Linked DNA regions of Homo sapiens: region 2 is linked to region 1. The links are contacts of gene promoters, found by promoter capture Hi-C in blood cells and fetal thymus (Javierre and others, 2016). All regions are on one chromosome and are shown on one strand. The core of a region is centred on a gene start or on the middle of the fragment in contact, and the rest is flanking DNA. Distances in the headings are between cores, read along the strand shown.

Region 1 (2,739 bases), core at 77-2,576:
CAGGGAGACAGTTCTTAACATTCTTATTACTTAATGGATATCAGATTGTTGCTTTTCGGAGTGGTTTTTCCATTTTTTGAAATTTAATTTGTTCTTAAGTATCTTTACAGAAAAAAATCCCATTTATTTAAGAAGTACTGTATTCTCTGGTTCTTATAGCTGCTCATTTTACATAGTTTTAGTGTGTACAAACGATTTTTTTTGTTTCATTTATTTCTAATATACCTTCTCATGTACTTGCCAAAATTTCATGTTTGACACAGTCTGCATACCTGCCAGGATTCTTGCTGTTAATGTGAAGGCGCCTGTTTGGGTTACTCAATTGTTGGACAACTGGGCCCATTCCCAGGTTTTGGTCATCACGAACATTGTGAATAGCCCTGCTGTTAACATCTTTCTGCAAGTTCTCCCCCTTCTTCGCCCTTTGGATCATTTCCTTGGAAATGTACTTCCTTAAATGGGTTTACTGGGTCAAAGGGGCTCTATGAACGGTTTTATAGCTCTTGGCACATAATTTTCGGATTGCGCCCTGGGCGGATCTAAGCGATGGCACCGGCCGCCGAGAGGGCAGGAATGCGGCGGAACGGTCCCGATAACCACCCCTCTTCCGCCCCCCAAAAGGAGAAGACCCCGCGAAGGCCTGCGGCTGGAAAGCCTTTTTCCGGTGCTCTCCCGTTCTCTTGAAGTGGTTAGTGTCTAAGCCGGGCAGAAACGCTTTCAGGATCCCAGGCCCTCCTGCCCCAGGACTAGGATTCCACCCGCCTCCGCTAATTCGGAATCCCAGACACCCAGGGCCCCCTCTCAGGCTCGCCTCGAAACCCCCGGCCCTGCGGCCCCTCGCGGGCGCCGAGCTCGGTCGCTATTATTTGGGCGCGGGTGAGGCGAGGCCCGCATAGCTGCGCGCTGAGTCAGCGGGGGCCGCGGCGGGGGGCGCGGCCGGGCTCCCCCCCAGCGCACGGTGCGCTGGGCCCGGCGTCTGGGGTTCCGCCTCGGGGCCGCGGGGTAGTCCGCGGGGTCCGGCGGGAGGGGCAGGGGGCGCGCGGAAGGACCCGGCCTGGGTGCGTCTCCCCTCCCCCAGCAGGAGCTCGGCCGTGACCGCGCGCCCGGCTATTCGCCTCAGAGAACCTCGCCAGGGGGAGGAGGCGAGGGCGGGCGAGGAAGGGGCGCAGAGGAGAAAGCGGAGCGGGACAGACGCAGGAAGGGAAAGAAAGGGAGGAAGCGCGGTGCGCGGGGCGGGGCGGGGCGGAGCGCGCGCAGGGCCGGCGGGGACGCGCGCCGGCGGCTGCGGGCGGAGGGGCTTGTGGGTAGCGGCGGCGCGCGGCCGGAGACGGGCGGCCGCGCGGGAGTGTGTGCGCCGGGAGCTGGCTGAGGGACTGCAAGGCGGCCGGCGGCGACCATGGCAGCGGGCCGGCGGCGGCCGTAGTGGCCCAGGCCTGGGCTTCAGCCTCCCGGGGCCCCAGAGGGCGGGGCGGTCCGGGCCGCGGCGGTGGCGGCGCCACTTCCCTGCTCCCGCCCGAGGACTCCTGCGGGCACTCGCTGAGGACCAGCGGACCGGCGGCGCGAATCTGACTGAGGGGCGGGGACGCCGTCTGTTCCCCGCCGCTCCCGGCAGGGCCGGGCCGGGCTGGGCCGGGCTGGGCCGGGCGGGCCCCTGGGAGCAGCCCCCAGGCGGGGGACCGCCTTGGAGACCCGAAGCCGGAGCTAGAGGCAGGCGGTGGGCCCGGGTGGAGTCCCGGCCGGAGCTGGTGGTTCGGGGGCGGTGCTAGGCCCCGAGGCTGCGGGACCTGAGCGCGAGGAGCCTGAGTGCGGGTCCAGCGGTGGCGGCATGAGCCGGCCCCCGCCGACGGGGAAAATGCCCGGCGCCCCCGAGACCGCGCCGGGGGACGGGGCAGGCGCGAGCCGCCAGAGGAAGCTGGAGGCGCTGATCCGAGACCCTCGCTCCCCCATCAACGTGGAGAGCTTGCTGGTAGGTGGCCGGGGCCTGGGAGCTTGCTCGTTGCAGCTCACACCTCAGATCCCCTCTCCGCCCAGCCCTCCGTGCCCGTCCGCCCGTGGGGAGGGGGAGGTCTTGCCCCACCCCGCCCTGCTTCCGGCAGCCGGGGCCGGAGACCAAACGATTCTGTCACCGAGTTCCAAGAGTAGTGACCCGCCTTTGATTCCTCCCTCTACCTCCTGCTGGAGCCAGTGTCATCCCCGGCTGCTCCTTTCTTGCAGCACTGGGAGGAAAACACCCCTCTTCTCCTTCCGCCTGCCCACTCTGGGGAGGTGGGTGGAGGACTGGCCATGCTTCATACACCAGGTTAGCTGATTTGAAAGTGTCATGCTACGTGGGGACTTGGTGCGAGCGAGGGAGAAAGAAACCTGATGCTGTCCCTGTTGCGAGTACTCACTGGGGTACATGACAAAGAGCCGCCCTCACTCTCTCCTTTTAGTCTGAAATCTTGGAACACACAGCTAAAGTTTTGCTGTTTTCACTTGCGTTTGAGCATTCCATACTTGCTATTTAGTGCATTTTAATTGCTGTAAATTTAATTCCCTGAGATTATTGCGCCAGAGCCAAAAAATCAGTCTGAATTGTGGAGTGGAATAAATCTGTCCTCTTCATTGCGTCTCTTTCCTATAACGACCTTTGAAATCCAGATTAATAGCACCGTAAAGGCTGCTAATTGGCTCTTGGTTAAGAAAGGAGCATGTTTTACAAAATAGAAATGCACCGTAGAATGCTGGCTTATTTCTTAT
Region 2 (2,739 bases), core at 72-2,571, 140 kb after region 1:
CAGTTTTTACTGCTGCTACCTAATTACAATGTGATGATAGAGGAAGTGTTGGTGATGAGGCAGAAGAAAATATCTGGGATTTTCATACCATGCTTTTAGATTCCTCCTCAGGGCTCTTTCTCAAGCTTATTGTCCGTGTGCCTGTTTGTTTCCTTAGTTTCTTAGACTTGGAAATGTTTGACTGTTAAATAAACAGCATGTAAATTTTTAATCATGTCATAGGATGTACTCTAGTGTCTACTTGATTTACTTATAAAATGGAGAACATATTGTTAAAATACTTTAAAAATATTATAGGCACGATTGTGCACGTCTGTAGTTCCAGCTACTTGGGGAGCTGAGGCAGGAGAATCACTTGAGGTGAAGTGAGATTGCTTTGCACTGTGATCATGCCTGCGAATAGCCACTACATGCCATCCTGGACAGCATAACAAGAACTCAACTCTAAAAAAGATAAAATATATAGTAAATATACTATTAAAATTTGTCCCATTTATTCTATTAGTAGGAGAATTACTTCTTCCTAATCATGACCAAAGGTCATATTGGATCCCGGTTGTTTGATGAAAGACAGTGTGATAGAGTGGAAAGAAAAAAGTCTTTGGATCCAGACAGACTGAGTTGTGAATATTGGTTCTGTTACTTACCAACTAACCAACATCGGGCAAATGATTTAATTTCTCTAAGCCTTTTATCACACTTGTGAAAGGGAGCAGTAATAGCTTCCTTGTTAGGGATCTTGTAAAGGATAGCAATGGTTTATTTAAAGCATCCATCATATGATAAGTGTTAGGGACTATTACTGCTAGATCTGTTACTGTTACAACTACTACAGCTACTACTAATGTATCCTCATTATAATTGTCTGCTTTATGCATACCTGTGACAGGTCAGTAAGACTGATGCTATCTAAGAAAAGATGCTTAAAATATTCAAGTAGACTTTGTTCTTTTTGCTGAGCTGATCTATTTATTGCCAGGGTAAGCCTAGACCTTCAACTTCATGAGATTTAAACTTTTAAAATTGGAACTAGAAATTGGAACAGTAATCAGACATCTTTGTCTTTGTGTTTTTTGTGGGTTTTTTTTCTGTATATTAGCTTTATTTTTCTCTCTTATTTCAGGCCAGCTTTTTATTCTAACGATAGTGTTTATGCAGATGTAAGAGCTAGTTAATCATCTAGGTTGTGTTTCCTTCCCACTTCTAATAATGCTTTGTTTATACCTAGTGTATATGCCTCTTATTTTCTTTGTAAGTGAATGGCGTTCTGTTATTTCTTAGTCCCTCTTTTCCTTACCTCTCCCCACCAAAGACACCCATGTTTTCTATCTTAGCCACCTAATAGGGTTATAGAGGAAGTGTTCATTGTAGGGTTAAAATTGAAGGGCAAAAATCATTTATTTATATTTTGTTCTCCCCAGTCCTTTTTTTTTTTGGAGATGGAGTTTCACTCTTGTTGCACAAGTTGGAGTGCAATAGTGTGGTCTCAGCTCACTGCAACCTTCCCTTCCTGGGTTCAAGAAATTCTCCTGCCTCAGCCTCCCAAGTAGCTGGGAATACAGGTGCCCACCACTATGCCCGGCTTATTTTTGTATTTTTAGTAGAGATAGGGTTTCACCATGTTGGCCAGGGTGGTCTTGAACTGCTGACCTCAGGTGATCTGCCTGGCTTTGCCTCCCAAAGTACTGGAATTACAGGTGTGAGCCACTGTGCCCGGCCCCCAATCCTTGATTAAGGTTTTACATATACTACATCCTCAATAAATGTTGTATGAATGATTACATCCCTCTTAGGTGTAAGGCATTGTAGTAGTTACTATGAAAGATAGAAAGATTAACCAAATACATTTCCTACCCATGAGAAGTTTACTAGCATTTTATCATTAGTTATTCAGTGGGGAAGATAAGGCAGGTACATAAGTGAATAGAAGGTAAAAAAAAAAAAAAAATACATGCAATGGGAATTTACATATGAAGTGCTATGTTGGCTTCTTTTTAAAATGGCCAACATGTATATCTCTTCTTTCTTGTAAGATTCCAGAAAAACTCTAGTAAAGGAATTAAAAAATATATAAACCCACAATAAATAAGAATGAGAATGGGTTGGAGGGCAAGAAGGTTCTCTAGTGAATGAGATGGCAGTTAGATGGAAGCCTTGTGACTGATGAAGTAGAACAAAAGAAGAAAGGAGTATATATAAGGCCAGGGGTATACATGAAGTGGGATATAGATGGAAAAGAAGTATTCAGAGCAAATAAGGCCTGGAGTAAGTTGTGACACTAAATGAACTAATCTGCTGATCATACTCTACCATTAACCTTGCAGATATGTCTGCAGCCAGGCACCTCCCACCACTAAGGTTTTTATCAGAGCATTCTCCTCTACAGAGTAATTGGGTACAACCTCTGGGGTAATTAGAACAGCTAATATGGGGTGAAAAGCCTTTCTCACTCTGGCATTTAGGGGTCCCTTTGCTTAATGCTGGCTTTTAAAGCCTCTCATCTTAAACTGAAGCTTGCCAGTGAGAAAACTCCTACATACATAGAGATTAAAGTTTTTCCCACCCCCTTTGCAAGTAAATAACCAAGTATCACTAAACATTTGAGGAAAGCCTGCAATCTGAAAGAGGAAGATTATGATAATGAAAGAGGAAAAGTGCCCCCGGAGGAAACATATATCAAGGAGTAGAAGAGAACTGCTAAAAGTTCTGGAAAAACAAAAGCACTGTAAAAAGCTACTG

What was found. Contacts are between HindIII fragments. The CHiCAGO score rates a contact against its expected background, and 5 or more counts as called.
Region 2: a fragment that was not itself captured here is called in contact with the fragment with the promoter of ROCK2 in region 1 in 1 of 17 cell types (megakaryocytes); the score reaches 6.3 in megakaryocytes.

Annotation. Positions count from the first base shown.
Region 1 is chr2:11,343,223-11,345,961 of GRCh38, reverse strand. ROCK2 (Rho associated coiled-coil containing protein kinase 2) reads left to right here and starts at 1,326. Exons shown (of 33, transcript NM_004850.5): 1 at 1,326-1,966. The coding sequence starts at 1,826. It overlaps LOC124907733 (a long non-coding RNA gene), which reads right to left and starts at 450. Exons shown (of 2, transcript XR_007086216.1): 1 at 273-450. RefSeq lists silencers at 842-1,001, 1,072-1,141, 1,282-2,011. The HindIII fragment of the contact is 12,622 bases long and covers 1-2,739 here.
Region 2 is chr2:11,204,807-11,207,545 of GRCh38, reverse strand. The region is part of intron 20 of ROCK2 (Rho associated coiled-coil containing protein kinase 2); the gene reads left to right. Among named protein-coding and RNA genes, the nearest start is that of SLC66A3, 51 kb to the right of the region's middle. The HindIII fragment of the contact is 2,388 bases long and covers 128-2,515 here.